2 separate regions of the Homo sapiens genome follow, and region 2 is linked to region 1. The links are contacts of gene promoters, found by promoter capture Hi-C in blood cells and fetal thymus (Javierre and others, 2016). All regions are on one chromosome and are shown on one strand. Each heading gives the region's core, a stretch centred on a gene start or on the middle of the fragment in contact. The rest is flanking DNA. Distances are from core to core; before and after follow the strand shown. Region 1 holds the start of DCLRE1A (DNA cross-link repair 1A). Region 2 overlaps ABLIM1 (actin binding LIM protein 1).

What was found. Contacts are between HindIII fragments. The CHiCAGO score rates a contact against its expected background, and 5 or more counts as called.
Region 2: a fragment that was not itself captured here is called in contact with the fragment with the promoter of DCLRE1A in region 1 in 1 of 17 cell types (activated CD4 T cells); the score reaches 5.3 in activated CD4 T cells.

The regions. Positions count from the first base shown.
Region 1 is chr10:113,849,322-113,855,910 of GRCh38, forward strand. DCLRE1A (DNA cross-link repair 1A) reads right to left here and starts at 4,761. Exons shown (of 9, transcript NM_014881.5): 1 at 3,402-4,761; 2 at 1-1,323. The coding sequence starts at 3,861. NHLRC2 (NHL repeat containing 2) reads left to right here and starts at 5,340. Exons shown (of 11, transcript NM_198514.4): 1 at 5,340-5,729. The coding sequence starts at 5,552. RefSeq lists enhancers at 2,314-2,533, 5,820-6,524 and a silencer at 5,450-5,809. The HindIII fragment of the contact is 6,407 bases long and covers 1,372-6,589 here.
Region 2 is chr10:114,520,949-114,527,136 of GRCh38, forward strand. All of the region lies in intron 6 of ABLIM1 (actin binding LIM protein 1), which reads right to left. Among named protein-coding and RNA genes, the nearest start is that of AFAP1L2, 120 kb to the left of the region's middle. RefSeq lists enhancers at 5,681-5,800, 5,971-6,188. The HindIII fragment of the contact is 2,440 bases long and covers 3,719-6,158 here.

The DNA.
Region 1 (6,589 bases), core at 3,511-6,010:
TCTTTTGATTAGGACTTGGAACTGGATTTAAGTTTATCCCTTCTAATGCACTTTCCCCTAGCAATTTCTCTTCCTTTCTTTTGGGAGGTAGTCCAAAATACACACCTATATCCATTTGCTTCATTACCTTGGTAGAAGGATGTCTTGCATTATACTTAAGACCAGAAGGCAATATTTTCAAATACTTCGGAGCAGGTGTACTAGACAAGTTTTCTGTATTTAAAATTGTAGCTTTACCAACTGGCACACCCTCTAATGCCTTTCTGCAGAAACATGCTGAGTTAGTATTATTCTTAGCATTCAAGTTCTCACTTGATAATTTTCTAATTGTATTTTGGGTTGGTTGGGAAGAAAGATACCCTTCTACCTGACTTTCAAAAGGTTTCAACATTAAACTCTTAACTAACGGAAGAGAAACTTGATTGTAAACAGATGATTCTTCAATTACCTGTTTCTGTTTATTTGATTGAGCTGAGTGAAATTCTGGCTCATCAGGTTTTGCTTTAGTTGCCTGATGAACAGAAGCAGCAAGCTTCCCTGCCAATGCAGGTGGAAACAACACAAAATCACCACCAGTACATGCCAGATCATAAGGCAAAGTACTCTCATTATTTTGAGAAATAGGTTGAGACAAATCATTTAGACTATTGAATCTATACAATCCTTCATCATACTTATCCCGAGTTAAGAAGCTGTTCACTTTGGGGCAGCTCTCATCCTGGTCCTTCAGTAAGGGACCATGTCGTTTTTTAAAAAAACCACAGCTGTCATCATCTTCTTCGAGGCTGCCATCTTTTGAGCTTTCGGTAAAAAACAGTTGTTCTTGTGAATCATCCGGTTTTTCATCGATATCATGAGTGTCTTCATCACTTTGAAGTGGAGAATAGGAGATTTCACAGTCACTGAAGTCATTTTCTGGCAATGGCAAATTTATGTGTTCTGAGTTGTTTGCAAGACGCAAAGCAACTCCCACTAGTTTGTCATTCTCAACAAAATCTGTAAATTGTAGAGCTTGTTGGGATGTTTGGATATGAGTAGAAATCTTTTCACTGGCTTCAGTCAGAGACGGAGACTTTTTAAAATACTGTGTCATCAATAAGGGATCATTTGAAACCGAGTTATCAGTTTGGTTCTGATACGAAGACCATCTTTCCTCAAGGCTACAAAGGACGCCTGACTTAGTCTCACTGAAACTGCCACCTGACGCAGGTGATGGGCTGCTAAAAGGATGATCACCAGCCCTGCTTTGAGCTAGCAGGAAGTGAGTGTATCTCTTGTAATGAAAAGGAATGGTTGAGGTACACAGAAGACCATCAGGACACTCTGAAATTTTAATAAAGAAAAAATATTACACGATCAAAGCATAGACTAAGCTTTGACAACATTAGCAGTATAAATTGGGTTCCATTATTTAATATCCACATTGCATATAATAAAAAGCAACAATTTTAATAAGATTAGTTATAATTGTTGATACACTGAACAAGTTTTAGATTCTATTCTAAGAATAGAATTTGAGAAATTGGTTAATTATAAGGCTTTACTAATTTGGAAACTATTCCCTATCATACTACCATGATTGAGAAACTTTCTATAAGCCATCTTGGTATATCCCTGTGTATGTTAATTTCCAGATTTATCAAAAAATGACACCTCCCTCCCCTCAAAAAAGATGTTATATTTGTTATATTAAATTAGAAAACTTCATGGCTTACAACCTAACTTAAAAATGCCTCTTAAAAGCATTTGTTATAGAATGGAATTTAATTCAAGAGCCATCTGAGAGTCTACTCAAAGGAGTTTAGTGAAAAACCAAAAGAAAAATTTTTTGAGGTGGCTTCATCTATATGACATTTTACCCTAAGGTCTTCAACCATGGACTCCAATTTCCATTCTTGATTTTCAAGTTACATGAAAGAAAATTACTAGCAAATTTGTGAGGTTTTCACTTGCTATCCTTTTCTGGGAAAGGCTAATGCCAAATTTAAAGAAGAGTTGTTTTTTTTCTGTATCTTCATGCAGTACTTTAAAATAACTACAGGTTAATAATAAAATGTATTCTGAATCATAGCTAACATGAAAGCCATATTGAGTATTTTTTTATTTTACTGAATTTTAACTTTTTCAGATTAAAAAAATCCATATATGGAATATAAATGATTTCAAAATATATAAATCATCACAACAACCTGTTCTCCATATGTATTCCAAGTAGGATTTTCTACATTAAATACTTATTACATATTTTAAAAGATAAAAAACATAGCATACTTTTATTATCATTTGACACGTTTTTTGTTAGAATCTTAATCACCTAGGACTCCTTCACAGTTCCTCTTCCTGTATACATAGCACGATGACTAAAACATAACCATATTTAGAAACCACATTATATCTATACTTTTTTTTTTTTTTTTCAGACAAGGTCTCCCTCTGTCGCCCCACCCAGGCTGGAGTGCCCTGGCATGATCACAGGGCCCTACAGCCTCGACCTCTTGGGCTCAGGTGATCCTCCCACCTCAGCCTTCCAAGTAGCCCACCACACCTGGCTAATTTTTGGTAATTTTTTTTGTAAAGATGGGGTTTCACCATGTTGCACAGGCTGGTCTTGAATTCCTAGGCTCAAGTGATCCGCCTGCCTCCACCTCCCAAAGTACTGGGATTACTGGCATGAGCCACTGTGCCCAGCCTATTTATAATTTTCTATGGAGTTCCATAATAACCACCAACTGGGGCCGGGCGCGGTGGTTCATGCCTGTAATACCAGCACTTTGGGAGGCCGAGGCGGGCAGATCACGAGGTCAGGAGATCGAGACCATCCTGGCTAACACGGCGAAACCCCGTCTCTACTAAAAATACAAAAAATTAGCCGGGTGCGGTGGCGGGCGCCTGTAGTCCCGGCTACTCGGGAAGCTGAGGCAGGAGAATGGCATGAACCTAGGAAGCGGAGCTTGCAGTGAGCCAAGATAGCGCCACTGCACTCCAATCTGGGCAACAGAGAGAGACTCCGTCTCAAAAAAATAAATAACCAATTGGACAAGTTATCTGACTTTTAAGAACTTTCATCTATAAAATGTCAATACTAGCTACCTTATATGGTGATTGTGAAAGTTGGGTAAGTAGACAGTGTGAAAGTACCCAGCATAGTAAGGATTCAGTTAACATTTATGGAAAATAATCCAGATACTTAGGAACTTTTATGAAATAACACAATGTATTTAAACTGTTTTCTAGTCTGCCATTTGCTTTACAATTATACCGTTGACTGGTATGGTGTTTCCCAGTGTCTCATCTCTCTTTTAGGTTACTGCTTGCCTTCCTTGTTTCACTGAATTGGTATGTCTGACCTAATGAAGACTTTTTAGATTATTTAGAAACTACTACGTTTTCTGCAGTCTTACCTGTTTCAGAGCGTGGTGGAGAATCCAAACATTCAAAAACATGCCATCGAGGTGTCTGCCCTATCAATGAGGAAAAAGGCATCTGGCAATTTGGACAGTATCCATCATAAACTGGACGTATCTTTGGGGACACGTGTTGGCTTTTTTGAGTTCTACAGAGTTTTCCTGGAGTAGTTTCCTTGTCTTGGGTCTGCTGAATACCATCTCCACAACTTGAATTCTGACTAGAAGCAACAGAAGTCTGACAACCTGCATTTCCAAGGGGCACTTCATGGTCCTTCACCTCTTTAGCTTCTGCGGCTCTTTTTCTGTTTCTACTCCGTTTTGACTGGTATTTTCCATCTGTTGCTTTTTCAACAGATTTTAGAATATTTTTAGAGCCATTATTTGGATCAACTCGTTTTGGTTTTCTTTTAGATTTGTATTCCCAAATGTCTTCTTCGGAAATGTCTTCTAACATGGCAAAATGATTTTATCATTCAAGAAGTATTAATCTTAAGTAAACTGAAAGTCCATTTCTTGTCACAAACAAAAAGTTATAGAATTATTTTGCTGAGAAAAAAAACAAAGGTAACAAAACCCCCACCAACTCAATGGGAATCTGCAGTGTTGGTAATGAACATATTGGCAAGCTACAAACCTTGTACCTGACAACACCTGCTATTCCATTTATACCACAATGAAACTAAGATAAACCTATCACAGGAGTAGCAACTGTGAAGTTCTCCATTATGGGTGCTATTTCATTCAAATATCTTGTCCTTTTCCAGGGCTTGATTCATAAAAATAATACTTCAAAAATTAAGCGCTAATGGCAAATATAGGTTCAACAGCTTAATCTTAGAACGAGATTTGTAACATTGTTATGAAGCTACTGTCAGTTCTTTCAAGTGGACAACCGTCCAAATAATTCATAAATCCAACCACAGTCCCTGGACAAAGGGCTTAACAGGTATCCCAAACACTAAATGACTATCTAACAAAACTAGTCACAACATAATCAAAGAGATGTGTAATTCGCAAAAAACTGCGAAGTCACTGCCCTCATCCACGACTAGTGGATACTCAACCACTTCAGTTTCCCGCGACAGTCCATGATCTTCCTCCAGCAGCAATGAACAATCCCTGCACAGTGAACAAAAAAAGTTGATATGTGAAAAAAGTTCAAATATGTGAAAGAGTGGGCTTGTATTGAGGTCTGACTCCGTATTGCACCCATGGTTCCGAAGGTGGCCAGCCCTCTGTCCACCTGACTCAAAACGGGGTCACACGCCAGCCTCTCCCTTATCTTTTGGCATTAGAGGCTGGGAGGCCAGGAAGCGGGGCCTTAATCATCTCCAGGTTAAGCATAGCGAGCTCCAAAAAGCCCTCAGAGTCCTGCCCTTCTGAAGACTCTAAGGCCCGCCCTCAAGGACCCTCACCGCCCCCCACCTGCCACTCGGCACCCCAAGGGAGCCGCTCCAGCTGCATCCGCTCCTCCCGGCACCCCCATCTAAAAATGTGTTCGCGCCCGCACTTTCAGCACTCCCAGATGACAAAACGCTGTGTTTGTGTATAAGTGAAAGCCACTCGCGCCAGTCACTTCCAGTTTACAAAGCCTTCTCTCTGGAGGTTATCCCTACCCGCTTTACCTTTAGGGTCTTGGCGGGAACAAGTTCCCGCTGCCAGTGCCGTGTCGAATCGGCGGATGCTGTTCAAAGAGAGAGACTTTAAAAATAATTTTTAAAAATACATTGCCCTTTTAAGTCCTACGGATTTATTGTATTTTATTTGTGTTCGAAAGTCCGCTAATTCCCAATGTGGAGGGTTGGGGATGTTTCCCTTAGCGCCTCTGGGACGCTGTCCCTAAGGCCTTATTCCATGTTGAATCTGACGCTCTCAATGTCCAGGCTCGGCTGCGGCGTGGGGACCGAAAAGGGGCGGGGTGGGTCGGACGGCAGTTTAATTACGTCCCCGGGAACTGCGCCGATTTGGACTTTTGGCACTTGGACCTATGCTTTAAAAAGAAAAAAGTGTCATTGGCGTGGAGTGGGGCTAGTGGAGGGTGAGGTGAATGCGCCGTTTGGAAACCACAGGACAGTGAACGTTTCGTCTCTCCCAGCGAGACTCTCCCGCGGGCCCGGCGGCCGCATCGGGAGCCCGGCGGAAACATGGCGGCGCCCGGAGGCCGGGGCCGCAGCCTCTCCGGCCTGCTCCCCGCGCAGACCTCGCTAGAGTACGCCCTGCTCGACGCCGTTACCCAGCAGGAGAAGGACAGCCTGGTCTACCAGTATCTGCAGAAGGTGGACGGCTGGGAGCAGGACTTGTCAGTACCCGAGTTTCCGGAAGGTGAGGGGCTGGCGTCGGGGTGGGGGCCCCTCCCGGCACCTCCCCTTCCTCGGGGACGGCGCCCTCCCGCGAAGCGGTGGGCTAGGCGGGTTTGTGCCGCTGGCGCCCCGGGGAGTGGCCCTTCGCCTAACTTGGGCCGCTGTTCGCGTGTTCTGCAATTCCCAGGGGTCCCCAAGCGGCCACCGACGGGGGTTTCCCTGGCACGGGGATCCACATACTCGTCTGTGTATCCTGAGTTCCGCCCGCGCCTGATATTAGCCAAGTGGACACTCCGTGAATATTTAGTGTCCCCGGTGGCAATGATTGCAACGTCCACACCATTCTGTCCATTCAATCTGGTTCCCCAGTGTCTTCTGGTCATCTTTCTGCATCATCTTGACATTTATTGATCACTTTTTCATGTATCACACACAGGGTTTTTTTTTGTTTTTTTTTGATACGGAGTCTCGCTCTGTCTCCCAGGCTGGAGTACAGTGGCGTGATCTTGGCTCACTGCAACCTCCGCCTCCCAGGTTCAGGCGATTCACCTGCCTCAGCCTCCGGAGTAGCTGGGACTACAGGCCCGCGCCACCACGCCTGGCTAGTTGTTTTGTTTTGTTTTGTTTTGTTTTGTTTTGTTTGTATTTTTAGTAGAGACGGCGTTTCACTATGTTGGCCAGGCTGGTCTCGACCTCCTGATTTCAAGTGATCCTCCCGCCTCCGTTTCCCAAAGTGCTGGGATTACAGGCGTGAGCCACCGCGCCCGGCCTGCCACACACAGTCCTAAACACTTGAGGGGATACCTAAACACTTGAGGAGATATTACCTTATTCAATTACCTCTATATCCCAGTGAGGTGCTCCTATCATTCCCCTTTCACA
Region 2 (6,188 bases), core at 3,689-6,188, 670 kb after region 1:
CTGGACAACAGAGTGAGACCCTGTTTCTAAAAAAACAATAAAAATAAGTGACTTAAGATACAGCAGCTAGTTATCCTTAGAGATGTCACTGGATTATGAACTGATAGGCTCATGTTTATGTTTATAAATAGTATAAATAATATGTATAAGCTCAAATAATAGGGATGAGAAGGGAGGAGGTGAGGTCTTAGGTTTCATTCATTTGGCAAAAGCCTGTGATGAACCTGTGGGTCAGGCACTGGACACCTGATGAGGAGGAAAGAAAGGCTGTATAATCTGCGCTACCAAGAAGAAATCTGTATTCAATTCCTGGCCCTGCAGTAATCATCTGTACGCCTTTCGGCAACTGCTCTGGGCCTCAGTTTACTTACTTGCAAAACAAAGATGAGAGTCATACTCAAGCCATAGAGTTGATGAAAGGACTTTGATGAAGTATGCTTATAAAGTGCTAAGGCAATAAGAACAAACAATAATTACAACCATAACCACCTTTATTACACATTCCTGTCCTCAAGAGCTTAGTATGCAGAGCTTAGCAAACAGGTGACTGTAACTGGATAAGATGGTTAGTGTAATGTACAAAGTGAGGTGGGTGTGGGGAGAAAATTCTCCAAGGCTACTGTCTTGGGGAGTCAAAGAGGAATCACAGGAGAGAAGCTCTTAGACTTAAAAGAGAGTAGAAATTTACTCGGTAGTCAACCCCCCTCCTTTCCCCGCTCCTTCTTTCCTTCCTTCCCTCTCCTTTTCCCTCCCATTCATCCATCCTTCTATCCATCCACTCATCCTCTTATTGGGCACCAACCTTCTATCAGATGATGTTTTAGTTTCGGGGATATGATAGTACCTGTCATAAGCATACATTCTTGCAATGAGTGACAGATACTAGACATGGATACAAGCAGATAAGAATTCCAGATAGTCGGGGAACAGTGCCATGAAGAACCTAAAACAGAACCAGGGGAGAGAAGATGGCCTAGGGGTTGGGCAGGTGGAAGCAACTTTAGCTAGGTGATTAGAGGATACCTCTCCAAGTCAAAAGAGGCAGGTTGAATAATGAGAAGGAAGCCAAGATCTGGAGGAAGAATGTGCCAGGCTCAGGGAGCAGTGAAAGCCCAGAGATGGACAGTGTCTGTGCTTGAGGGGCAGAAAGAAGGCTAGCAGGGCTGGAATGAAAGAGGAGGGAAGATGTAGGTAATCAGAAACTTAATCTCAGAGGGCTGCATAAGCCAGGAGAAGATATTTCAACAGATTTTCAAAATTCCAAGGTTTAAAGGCAAAACAAAAACCCAGTCGAACACATGTTTTCCTCATGCTTTAGAACTCTTTTCAAACCACAAAGGAAACCTGGCAATCCACCCCACCCCCCACTTATTCCCTAAACTTCGTTATATAAGGGCCAACATCTTCTTTCATCTGTTGCCAGACCAGATACATTTGGCATCCTAAACAAGTTGCCAAAACAAAGCAGAAAGCTCAGCTTAAACTCTGTTAGAGGATGTTCTAAACTTCACAAAACACAATTCTCTATGTTTTCAAGTATGTTTATTTGGACAAGGTATACGGATATGAGCACAGACATAAGGAACCAGCTGCACAGAACCAAGACAATCTAGTAAAAAATTACTATTCAGCAGTAAGGAAAGATAAAAGCAGTCTTAAGTGTAAACAAGTATTTTTGCTTCATCTAGTGTTTATGAGCAACAAATGGCCTCAGTGTGAACCAGCAATGCTGAGAAGGACACAAACACGTATTTGCTAAAAACATTCCAGGCTTGGCGAATAATAAAGCAGCAGGGTTTGTTTCCTCTTTGATGAAGGTCCCCTCCCGTCAAAGGCTGCACCTTAAGCCTCTGCAGCTTAAGGTACAAGAAAGGCTCACGCTTGCTCATTCCCAGGGCTCTGCTTAGAAGCATGTAGCTAGGCCAGGTGCGGTGGCTCACGCCTGTAATCCCAGCACTTTGGGAGGCTGAAGCGGGTGGATCACTTGAGGTCAGGAGTTGAAGACCAGCCTAGCCAACATGGTGAAACCCCATCTCTACTAAAAACACAAAAAATTAGCCGGGCATGGTGGCACACACCTGTAATCCCAGTTACTCGGAGGGTGAGGCAGGAGAATCGCTTGAACCCAGGAGGTGGAGGTTGCAGTGAGCCAAGATTGCACCACTGCACTCCAGCCTGGGTGACAGAGCAAGACTCCATCTCAAAAAACAAAACAAAACAAAAAAATCCATGGAGCTGGGGTTGGTTTGTGAACCAAAGCAAGAGATTGAGAGGATCTTTGGCTTCTCTGTCTCTCACTACGGCATCTTTACATTCTGCACAGTCTGGAAACTTCCAATTTCAAGACATCTGCCCCATCTGCACCCCCCTTGCCCTGATAACCTGGTTCAGAGAACCAGGTAGGTTCTCTGGGCAGCACCACCTGACTCCCCACAGGACACATAGATCAACAAGGGCCGTTTTTTCACCTCTGATCATAAGCTCTTTCAACTGGCGAGTTTTCTTAAAGAGGTGGTAAATACCTTGCCTTTGGGTCAGACCCTATGGTTAGTGTGCTCTTTATCTTATTGAAACCATGAAGAAGCATTAACCTGTGGGGTTTATAATAAGAGCAGAAATTTAATTTCTGGGCCTTATGAAGGCCCAAATTCTACAACCCACAGACCCACTCTTCCTGCATCCTTCAAAGAGTTTTCTGGTAGCCCCTCAGACATTAAAACCTGCTTAGATGGTGACTGGATTTGTCCTCTTTAAAAAATTACAGAAATATGGACACAGGCTGCAGACATGTGGCTTGCTGACCAAGCTCCTGGGTGGTCTTTCCATAGAAATCATTGACATTCATTTGTCTGTTCATCAATGACTGAGCAAATAGTATGAGCAGGCACTGTGCTATATCCTGGGGGCAAATAGACCTAAAATGCTCACATTTGCTGCACTCAGGGATCTTTGGTCTACTGAATGGGGGGAGAGGGTGAATTTTAATTACGAAGAACTGTTACTTAGAGAGCACATGGTGTGTGTCACATTGGTACCTCCAGGTGGAGAGAAATGCAAGATTTGCTTTGCAATCAAAAGCAGAAACCACAGCTCTCTGATAACATTATGGGCCAGTCCAGGTCTGTCACCAAGAATAGACTTCAATAAGTCAAGGTGTTTCCCTATCTGTTCAGCCAATGCTAAGCACCACTAAGCACTATGCAGTGGTACATCTCATCTGGTTTGGGTGGTGGTGGTAGCTCCTGGAAGTCACGGTGCTCAGTGCAATGTACTATATTCTTGGAGAAACACCAAGAAAAAGCAGCACTCGCAGCTTCATGCATTTTGTAATCTGTAAACCTTTGAGAGCAAACAAGCAGTAGCATTAATGCTAAAGGTGTAAGAAAAATTTTAAACGGAAAAAATCCCAGCCATTGACTTCATCGTTATCTGTAAATTGGAAAAAAGCTGTGATTCTTCAATTGCACTCACAAAACAAGGCCCAATTCCTAAAAAAATCAAAACAGTTTGAGACCCACTGGTACAGATGGCGAAAAGAAAAAAGAAATGAAAGCATTCACTTGCAGATTCTAGAAGAAAAAAAAACTAACAGGCATGGCCAGATTTACTAAAAACCCACATTACAAACAAACAAACAACAACAACAACAAAAAACTCTATATTTACAGAAGGGAAAAGTATGGGTAACTATTTGCTTTATAAAATGGATCACTGTATAAGCTTCTTTTTAAAAAAAGACAAAATAGTATATCCCCAGAATGCACTTTAGAATTCAATTGAAAGAAGTTTGACTACTATACCAATCATAGCACTGTATAAAATAAGTCCCACAAGGGCACAGAAGGAAAAGGGGGCAGAAGAATGTATATCCGCAGCAAGTCCTTGAATCTGATACCCCATTCCCAAGATGTGATTTCAGACAAAACCCAAACAAAATAAAAACCAAATGGTCAGGCAAAAACACCTGTCCTGCCACTGTTCCTTGGACCCCGCCAGGCCTCCCTGGGACTCCAGCCTCCTCTCATAGACCCTTCCCCCTCGTTGGCAGCAGTAGGCCCCAAGACAGGTTTCCCTCTAGCAGTGATTCCCAACCAGGGGCATTTTGCCCACAGGGAATATTTAACAGTGTCTGAAGATATCTCTGGTTCTCACAGCTGGGGAGGGAGTGCTACTGTCGCCTGGTGTGTAGAGATCAAGGATGCTACTAGACATCCCATAGACAGTCCCCTGCAACAAACTATAATCCCATCCAAAATGTCAATAATGCTGAGGTTGAGAAACCCTGTTCTACAGGAGCCAAAATCATGACCATCCCTCCAGAAAGTCAGGTTACAAGAACTGAGTAGTTCACTTTCTGTCCTTTTAGGTGAGCTATTGTTTAGTTGAAGAGAAAAATCTGCAGGCTTCTGTTGTCAGGATATAATATTCCCTGAGCTTACTGGATAAGCCACTGATGCGAGGATTAGACTCACTGACACATGAAAATGCTTAGGCAACCGCCTCGAAAACATTGGTCAAAACATTCTAAGTGTTATAAGGGATGCTTGGCAAGGCCTCACGCTTAGTCTTAAAAAGCCTTCTCAAAAGTAATTTATACCAATGAGCCGTGGCAAATTCACCTATTCTATAAGTACGCAGTGACTCAACAAGCCTTTTGATCCATTTATAGAATGGCAACAATTATATTTTAATGAGTTATTTTCACTTACTTGTCAGAACCTGTTTTGGTAATCTAAATAACTTCACATCCTCTTAACATTCCTTATGAGGCTGTCTGAGAGAAAAACAGGCTCAGTTTTCTTTTAAGTCTCCAATCTCAGCTAAGTGACAAATGAAGCTGCTATAGCGACCACACTCCTGCTGGCTTATGGCCAAACTCACGTTTTCTTTTTTTCTTTTCCAACATCATAAATCTATTTTTTTCACAGATGAAATAACTTTCTGGTCCCATTTCTTCTTTCATGCTAGTATAGCACATTTTAAAACACTTTCCCCCCAAAAAAAGTCTTTACAGTATGATTCGATTAATAACTGGGTTTTTAGGAAAACTATTTTCAATATAAAGGCCAGAATCTCTAGATTTCTTTTACTGCATATCAAAGGTGGAAAGAGAGGCAATTGTCAAGCTCTTTCAACCTAGAGCCGCAATAAAACATGAATAACATCTAAACATTTTGTTTCCTTATTTTCATTTATTGGGTATTTCTTAAAGAAAAAAAAATCTCATAATTTACAGTAATAGCTAAATCTACTCATTCCCACGTGCCACTTCCACCACCAAATCCCCCAAACAGGACTCAAATGTAAATTTCACAGAGCTCTACAAACCACAGACAAAACAAAACAACCCCAAAGTCTGAAAACCACAGTCTCCTTTCAATCTTGCGGGTAGCAGCCTAAAAAAACATAAGCCTTGTTTAAAAGGTCAACGCACTACACTTCTCAGTGAAATAAATAACCAGCCTTTCCTGCCCTTCAGTCTAGTTCTGTATCGATGAACAAAAGCTCCTGTCGTTTCTTTTGTATCATCAGGAAAACAAAAAGTTTACATAAATGTATGTCAGGGCAATAAAAGTGACTTCTGTCGCCAGCATCCAGCCACCACATTTGGAGGATCCGAGCGGCCTCCGACCTCACGAAGGAAGCCAGAAATCTCACATCTGCCACGCAAAGCAAAGGACATAGGTCACCTTGTGCAATGTCCGCTTTACCTCAGGCCAGGGTTCCTTTTCTTCTAATTCTGTTCCTTGGCTGTGCTGAGCAGAGAACTCCTCCAGGCTTCAAGTTCAGAACACGGCCAAGAGGCTTTGTAGATGCCAGACCTCAGCCCGACAGACTGAGGCTCCCACCTGCCTGGGTTACATATCAGGCTTCTCTCCGAAGCTCGGCTAAGGCAACGTGCATCCCTCTAGAGACGCACTCCGGAAACCAGCCCCGTGTGCGGCGGGCAGGCACGCTCTCTCACGCCTCCTCTCCTCGCTTTACTTACTAGTTCAACACACCAGCAACCACAATGGGCCAGTCCATGTTCCCAAAAAAGGAGGGGGAGTAGATTTACTTTCTTTCTTTTTTTAAATGCAGGTAGGAAAGTACCATTTCTTTGCATTCACTCACTATTGTCTGCATGTGAAACCGACAGTGATTGTCCCTGAGGCATAAGCTTGTACTGAAACGAGATTCTTAGGCTT